Linked DNA regions of Homo sapiens: region 1 is linked to region 2. The links are contacts of gene promoters, found by promoter capture Hi-C in human tissues and cell types (Jung and others, 2019). All regions are on one chromosome and are shown on one strand. The core of a region is centred on a gene start or on the middle of the fragment in contact, and the rest is flanking DNA. Distances in the headings are between cores, read along the strand shown.

Region 1 (4,112 bases), core at 1,288-3,787, 150 kb after region 2:
GAAAAGAAAGAGAGGCAAATTTTTCACTTTATTTATATCTGCTCTCCTCATTTTAGAATTGAGGTTTTGGGAGTAGGTTTAAGGGGTAGAATATTTTCATTAGTATGTATAGAGGCCACAGACTGAAGCTATTTCATTTAGATACATAATAAATTTGGAAAAATGGTTATTGGTTTCTTTATCTCTAATTGTTCAAACAAGATCCGTATTTCAGAAAATGCCTCCTTCATATTCACAGTCACTCGTTGAAAGTGACTAATTTATGACTGGGCAGGGACACAGCGTCAAACACTCTGAGCATATGGATAAGTGACTCGCTGTGTGTCTAAGATCGATGGAGCCTGACGCCTGCTCCCTTGCCAGGAGCGTGGGCCAGCATAAATGTACTCAGGAAGGGGAGAATGGCATCTCATTATGTACTGGGACGGAGTGAGCAGTGCGCGGCTGGAAGCCTGCATTTCCCTCCATTAGCGGTTTGCAAACTGTAACCCTCCCTCAGAGTTGTTTCTGGGGCTCAGCAAGCATTTATTACAAGTGTTTAAAATATGTTTAAATAATTATTTTTAAAAAACTAATTAAAAACCAGAAAACACATTCAATGGAATATATGCCAAGTTTTAACACACTAGAAACCATTAAATATTAATATATATTCTTATTGATAGGCTCTTTAGAAAAGAATGTGAATGTCAATGCATAAGTTTGTATAGAAAATACTGTTTTACCTATTTTGTGATTCATGATTTCATGATTTGTGATTTCTTTTGGAAAAAGCAAATTATGCTAGAATTTTTATAGACCCTTCCCAAAATCACAAGTTAGGGAAAGACAGAAAAGTAAGGGTGAAAGGAACAGAGCCTGAGAAATCGCTGTTAGAATGATTAGTGCATATATTGCCCAAACCTTTAATGGTTTTTATGGCTGTCCTTCAGAACGCCCCACCTTAAAAAAGTCTTTATTAAACTTAGAGCATTTAAGTGTATTTTATTCTTTTCAGAATTGGATAATTTTCTTCTCTTATTCTTTTTTTTTTTTTACTGTATTTTTTTGGCTGGGAGGAGGTTGATGCCAGGAGTTGTATTTGAATTGAATCTTTGGTAATAAGGTTTAATATGATTACTTGCTTGACAATTTCTGTTCAAAGGAGGGGGCTCTTCTCAAAACACTCAGTTCTTTCTCTATTATAAACATATTTTGAGACATTAAATGAACTGGGAAAGTTTCCAGGACAAGGTCTGGAGTTTAAGCACATATGTTCAAATTCTAGATCCACTATCTTTAAAGTAAAGCTTAACATGGGCACAATTTCGAAGTTCTGGCTCAGTTTCCCTTTTTGTAAGATGAAGATAATAATAATATTGACACTATCAGGCTCTGGTAAGGACCAATGGACTCAATATATGTAAAATGTTTAACATGGTGTCTAGCACATGATAAGCATTCCACAAATGTTAGTACCATTATTATTTTCGTACAACTTTTTGCCCACATTTACTATGAGAACTGTTAAGTAACAAACAGAAAAATAGAGGGGGAGACTAAAAGAAAAAGGAGATACCGTGTGCATCTATTTATGTCATATACTCGTCAAAAAGACATTTGTATTGTTACTTGATTTTTCAGTAAATCCTGTGAGCTGTCCACTAGTGAGAACCAAGGTATTGAGAAGTTAAGACACCAAACAGCAAGTGGTAGTGGTAGAGGGGGTAGACAGAAACAAGGGCTTTTGACTCCAAGTCCAGTACCCTTTCTTCCATGGTGTTCCTTCTCTCATAGACGCCAAGATTTATTAATGTTAACCATGGGTTGCCAAATTTTTATTCTCTTCATTATTTTTGATAGGTATGGAATTCCGATGATCCCTAGGTCAGTAGTCGCCAACCTTTTTGGGACCAGGGACCAGTTTTGTGGAAGACAATTTTTCCACAGACAAGGGGTGGGAGGAGATGGTTTCAAGATGAAACTGTTCCACCTTGGATGATCAGGCATTTGTTAAGTTCTCATAATGAGTCCACAACCTAGATCCTTGGCATGCACTGTTCCCAATAGGGCTGGTGCTCCTATGAGAACCTAACGCCGATGATGATCTGACAGGGGACAGAGCTCAGGCAGTAATGCTGCCTCACCACTCACCTCCTGCTGCATGGCCCAGGTCCTAACAGGCCAGGGATCAGTATCGGTCCATGGCCAGGGGAGTGGGGACCCCTGACCTAGATGGTAACCGCCCATTCATTCACTCCTCTGATATTTGTTTTGTGTAAATATATATGACATTGGGCAGCACCTAAACTAGGTGGAGCAAAGTAGGAAAGAATTTAGCAAAGATATTGTATCAGGAAAATAAAACAAAATCACTCCAGTTATTTTAACAGACAAAACGTCATATAGGAAGTTGGTGTTAGAGGTCTGAAAAGGCAAGTAGGAACATGGACATAATATGGAGAAAGTGAGTGCAGCCTTCACCTCTAGGGATGGGAGAAACACAGGGAAGAAGCTGGGGTCATTAGAATCCAGAAGTTTAGAGGAGGAGTCTTTTCAAGTTAAACTCAAACTTCCCAGGAGAAGGCAGCTGATTAGTTGGCACTGGTGTTTCTGTGGGTGTATGAGGAGGAGGCTTCTGCAAGGGAGAAAAACAACTGGAAACTGGAACAACGCAGGCTGCCAGGGCGAAAATGCACTGCTGGGTGATGCTGCAGGAACAGGAAACAAACAGGAAGGACTCGGTCACTTCCCTTTTCTCGAGTTTCCCGTCTCCCTCTAGCACCCTTTGGCAGAGTCTAGCATGGCACCATCAGGCCAAGCTGAAACGTGGTTTGCAGAGAGCCAGCCCCAGCATCACAGGTGAGTTTGGAACTGAGACAATAGATTAACAACTGGCAGATATATGCACATACTGTTATGGCTAATTGATATTAATATGTAAGTTGTGCTACAGAGGAAGAAACTATTTTTTTTACTGGGAAACTCCTAGACTCCATTATATCTAATCGGACTTTACGTCCTGATTTACTGTTTATCTTATATATTATCTCAGCTTCTTCAGCCCTTCTCCATTCCCACTCACAACGCTCCAGACTAAACCCGTATCATGTCTTAGTTGGCTTATTCCAGTTGATTTCCCCACCTCCAAGTTTACTACCTCCAGCCCATCCTACCTGCCAACAGAACAATTCCTATTACTCCACTCTTAAGGCCTTTAATTAATCTTTAACCTACAGAATAATATCTAAACTTATTCATAGAATACAGGCTGCCTCTCCTTCCAACCTGCCCACCTCCTACCTCAGATCTCATCTATACTAAAACTGCTCAAAACCTTTGCTTTAATATTATACCATAGCAAAGTTGAGGGGTAGGCTGGGGAGCTAAGGAAAAGCAATATGTGTTTAGAATGAAAGAATTACCACAATCAAACACATCTATGATTAACTGCACCCAGCATTCTCTTGCTGGCAAAAGCATTAGGGGCTAACAGAAAGAAGGACATTGAGAGAGTTGCCCAGTCACCCAACAACTCATAAAAATCTGCCAAGGACCAGAAACCATATAAAAACAAACACACATATTTTAAAACTTTTGGATGTTTAATATTTCAAAAATATAAATAATAGCCAAGCAATGGTTTTTGAAAAGATATAGAGACGTGCAGGACAAATTTTCTCGTCTTTGGTGTCCAAGGATTGTATTATTAACAACTTTCTTAGACACGAGTTGGTGAAACAGCTGGCGTTTCTATTAACAAAACAGTTTTAAAACGATTGTAATATCTTTCCAATAATGAAATGTCTTTTCAAGAGTAAAAACTAACAGCTAAGATATACTGAAAAATTTTATGTGTCAGGCTCTATTCTAGGCACTTACATATATTGTCTCATTTATTTTTCACCAGCTCATTTATTTTTCACCAGCTCCCTATAAAGTAGATACTTTTATTATCCCATTTTATAGATAAGGAAGCTGAGGCTCTATGAAGTTAATTATCTTGCCCACTACTAGGTGGTGGTAGCACTAGCTCTTTGAGGGTCAATAAGGTGAAAAGTTAGTAACTACTTGTGAATGGCTCCTTTTTTTTCCCCTGTGGCTAGAAATATGTTTTTGTATTTGGTTTAAAT
Region 2 (4,388 bases), core at 1,042-3,541:
AGGTTTAGATGCATGCCTAGAGCTAACAGGTGGGAAAAAGAAGAGAGATTTAGTTTTTGCTGTCTTCCCCAGTCTCCTCCTACACGGTTACCAGTGCTATTTAGCCTTTCAGTAGCTGCTCAAGGAATACACAATTAAATCCCCAGTGTCCACCCCCATAGGTCATACATGATTTGTATGATGTCCACAGTACCCACCAGCACAATTTCCTCTGCTACTCATACCCTCTTTGGGTCTCAAAAATTCCTAATAATTGCGTGCAATTCCCAGACTTACTACTAAACTGTATTATGTCTCACTGTTTTCCCACAAGCTGTTTTCTATGCCTAGACTGTCTTCTCCGATCTCATTATGTGCTCCTGGCAACCTTTGACTTCTGTTCCCGGAGCAAATGTTTTCTCCTTTGGGCAGTTTTCATTCACCCCTCCCGAATTCCCTACTACTTTCATTCCTTCAACCAATGAATATTGAGACTTCAAGTACAACTTCTATGATTACACAAATTACAATCAGTTGCAATCATTTATCTCTAAGCTAGTCTCCTCTAGATTCTTGATTACTTGAGAGCGTTTCTTTCCCTCCTCTTATTCCTCAGCCCCTAACACGGAGCCTGGCACGAGGGCAAGGGCTGGCCAAAAGCAAAAGACTCATCTGCTGCTGGGACACCAGGAAGCCAATCTGCATTGATTTTCCTTTCGGGCATTTCAAAGACAATTTGGTTTATAAAGTTGAGAATGAAGCCTCTAGCAAGAGCAGGCGAATTCCCCAGAGGGTTCGGTCTACAGAATCGCCAACGCCCCCGCCGATTACTCATCCGTGACTCCAGCGGCGTCTCAACCACCACCTCCAGAAAAAACGCGCCAAAATGTTTTACAACTGCCTCCTCCCACGCTTCAATGCAGACCAACTTCCCAAGCAGGGGGCGAGGGCTTGATTCCGAGCCAAGGAAAGGAAAGCTCTAGACTAGAAGTCACACTCCCTAGGGTCCCCTCGGAATCGCTCAGCTATAAGCAGTCTCCCACTTAATGTCTTGACGCCCACCCACCTCCAACCAGCTACCTATCGACCAAGCCTTCACTTGGACAGGCAACAATAAGCTGAAATTCCCGGGAAAACGATTACGTACTTGGCTGAAGAACAAGAAAGAAATAGATCCCTTCCCCATAGTCAGTTCGGCATCTCGACCCTGCAGTGGGACTGGCCGGGCAAAGTTATGAAGCTTGGACTTTATAAGTTCCCAGTGAAAAGCCGGAGCTCCCTAGAGAGTCGCGGGGATAGATGGTCCCGTGTCTTTCACCCACCATTTCTCCCCCCAGCTTCCCAGGCTACTCCGCGGCCTCCCAACCTCCTGGTCGCGAGTCCCAGCAGCTGGCACTCTTCCAATGCCCTGGGCGTGCCCTTACAGGCTGCCAGGGCGGACAGCCCCAAGCCTGCTTAGCCCCTTGCATCAGGACTTGGATCTGATGCTGCCATATTGAAAAGAAGGCAACAGCCGGCTCCTGACGCAGACCGCCTCAGTCCCGGGGGATGGAGCGCACTGCTTCTCCCGGGGGCGCTTGGTTGGTAAGAGCTTGAGTGTATCTCAAGTTCCCTGAACAAGCGTGGAGGGATTTTTCTTCCAAACCGCGCGGGAACGGATTTCAATTCTAGAGCGGCCAACAGTAAGCATAAGCCCTACCCAGCTGCAGCGGCTTCCTTCTGCTTGGCTGCGCCCAGCCTAAACAGTAAATAATGCAAGCTTTCTCTCTCTCCAAGCGCGACAGGGGCGAGGGCTGGAGCAGCTCCTTGCTCTTTGCTACTCTGGGCTCTGGAGAGTGCAACCTGGGGCTCCCACTTGGAAGACCGCGCTCCAGTCCCGCCAGTCCCCTGGGGCCCCAGAAAGTTTCTTGAAAGTGGAAACTCTTACCTGACCCAAAAGGTCATAGCCCAGCTCCTCGGCGATGGCCGAGGCTGCTTCCGGGCCCCCGGGGATCTCCGCTGCCCATTCATTGACAAATTGCCTTTTCGCTTTTGCACTGTTCAGTGCACACCAAGCGCAAAAGAGGACGAAAGCAGTGCACTGCAGACTCCAGGCTCTTCGCTCCATAGCTCACACACTCGCTTGAACAAGAGTGGGAAGGGAAGAGGAAAAAGAAGCAAGATAGGAGAAAAGCCAGACAGACTCCCCCTTCCCACCCTCGGGCTCTAGACCACTCCTGGCTCCTGGTTGCTCTGCGAAGAGCTAGGAGGCGCGAGAGGAGAGGCTGGGCGGCGGCGAGCGCTCAGTGAAGCGCTTCGGTCTCCAGGCTGAGTGGAGCCCCAGCCCTTCCCAGCCAGAATGGAAATGAGTGTTTACACGTCAAATCGACGAAAGCCATCTCTTGACGTCAGATCTACCTGGACTAAGATCCGAATGGTATTCCCGGCGGGGCGGAGAAGCGGCTAAAATAAGCAGCCAGGGATTAGGAAAAGGAAGGAACTGTTTGCTGGGATCAGTTAAGTCTGCTCCTTGTCTGCCCATAAATTCTGTACCGTGAGAAACATTTTCACTTTTCAAAGAGAAGTGCCCCACTTGAACATAACTACCAAGAATCAAAGGCTGGGAGTGCTTTCCCTCCCTTCCATCCATTTTCTCTGTATTTACTTTATTATCTCATGTGTGTGGCGGGGAGGGGGGGAGGCTATAGGATTCTTATAATGGCCCTTTGGGCATCAGCACCTGCTATGAAGAACAAGGCTCTTAGGTCTTTCAAAGAGAGAGGCTAGGAGAGTAAGGAGAAGAAGGGAAGCTACTACTGTCCCAATTCTGTTCTAAATTGTCTGAGAAAATTAGCATGTCTATGTTAAAGCAATACTATTAAAAATGAATTTTTAACCATTCAAGCCACCTTAGTTTACAAGTTTACTTCCCTCCTCCCCTTTGTTTCTCAACCTCAGTAAAACAATATCAGTAGTTATACTCCGATATTGCAAAGCCAGCGCCACCACCACCTTTTAGGGTGTTTATCAGTAAAATGATTAATCATGTGATTTTAAAAAAACATATTTTTAAGAATTCGTCAACAAGGGGATCTAGGATCCCAAAAGCTGTTGTGTTGATTCAGGGAGGGAAAGAGCAGTTTTTATTTACCTCGACTTTCCATTGTGCCTCAGTAGAGCTCTTCACTTTGGTGCTGAGCTGGAGCTGTGCCATTACTTTCCCATAAAATGCACAATGCCTCTTTGTGGAAAAATGGTTTCCTGTGGGAGGAGAGCAAGGAAACATCTAAATGAATTCTCCACCCCTCACCCTAGGGAAGTGAGTTCAGTCTCCCATGGTGGAGCCTATTCGAACCCTGAGGGATTGAACCTGGCGGGAGATACCAGTGCCTAGTATTCAGCACCGAGGTCTGGACAGCGACACACGCAGGACTGCCGCAGGAGCTGCTCTCTCTTCTGAGCACCAAAGACCTCCACCCTTCTGCAGCTGGCCAGCACCAAGCTGTTTTCCTTTTGATATGTGCATTTCCCTCTTTTGAACAGCAAAATAGGAAATTGGCCGCAGGGGGGAGTGTGGTTAGGTTCATGATCGTGACAACTTGTGTCCAGCTCTTGGGAACGTGTTGGACTCAGGCCAAAAGTAAAATCGCCGGGAGGTGGAATTGAGAGAGTATGCTGCACCTGGGAAGTTTGTTTTTTTTTTTGTTGTTGTTGTTGTTGTTTTTTAAAGCTCAACCGCCCGAGGGCGCGATCTATGCTGTAGAAATAGAAGAAAGGGGAGAAGGTTGGAAAGAAAGCATATAAACAAGTGGAGAAAGGAAGCAAGAGATGTTCCTTACAAGAAGCAAATGAGACAAGACTTGGTGGAGGATCAGGCTCTGTAGTGCTAATTTTTCATTTGCCTCCACGTTTGCAGAAATGTGCACTACATAATTTCTTTAAACATAAAGCATCTTTACAAAATCAAATGCCAATGTTAATAAGCCATGTGACATGGTTAAGTGTTTTACAATAATGTAACTCACATGAGATGAAATGGAATGGGCTCCGATTGATAGCTTTGTTGTCTGTTCTGTAAATCCACATGTGTGAATGTTGATGGCTGGGTAAGCTGTCTTCTTTTCCCTTCACACCTCGGCCTGAGTTGTGGCCTCAAGCTCTCAAGGGTGTTTCATTCTCACAGCAGACAGACACTAACTGTGCACTAGCAAGGCAAGAGAAGCCCAGGGCAAATGTTTTATAACGGTAGATGTGTCAGAGGAGGAACATATTTGTCCCTTTCTTATTATTGTTCAAGTAAATCAGTTTGGCAGAGTGTTGGCAATAGGGTCCGTGTCTCTCTCATTAATGAGGCATTTGTCTTAAATGGAGCACCATAGAAGCCTGGAATAAACATTTGGTTTATATACCTAACAGGGCCAAGTAAACTC

The links. Contacts are between HindIII fragments. The study calls those that stand out against the background at their distance.
Region 1: a contact is called between a fragment that was not itself captured here and the fragment with the promoter of PCSK1 in region 2, in 1 of the 25 tissues and cell types used here (mesenchymal stem cells).

The regions. Positions count from the first base shown.
Region 1 is chr5:96,582,193-96,586,304 of GRCh38, forward strand. All of the region lies in intron 4 of LOC101929710 (a long non-coding RNA gene), which reads left to right. It also overlaps a transcript of CAST not described here. Among named protein-coding and RNA genes, the nearest start is that of CAST, 78 kb to the right of the region's middle. The HindIII fragment of the contact is 5,367 bases long and covers 1-4,112 here.
Region 2 is chr5:96,430,957-96,435,344 of GRCh38, forward strand. It overlaps PCSK1 (proprotein convertase subtilisin/kexin type 1), which reads right to left and starts at 2,292. Exons shown (of 14, transcript NM_000439.5): 1 at 1,907-2,292. The coding sequence starts at 2,086. The region is part of intron 4 of LOC101929710 (a long non-coding RNA gene); the gene reads left to right. It also overlaps a transcript of CAST not described here and the pseudogene LOC102724070. RefSeq lists silencers at 3,169-3,463, 3,325-3,444. The HindIII fragment of the contact is 6,406 bases long and covers 1,479-4,388 here.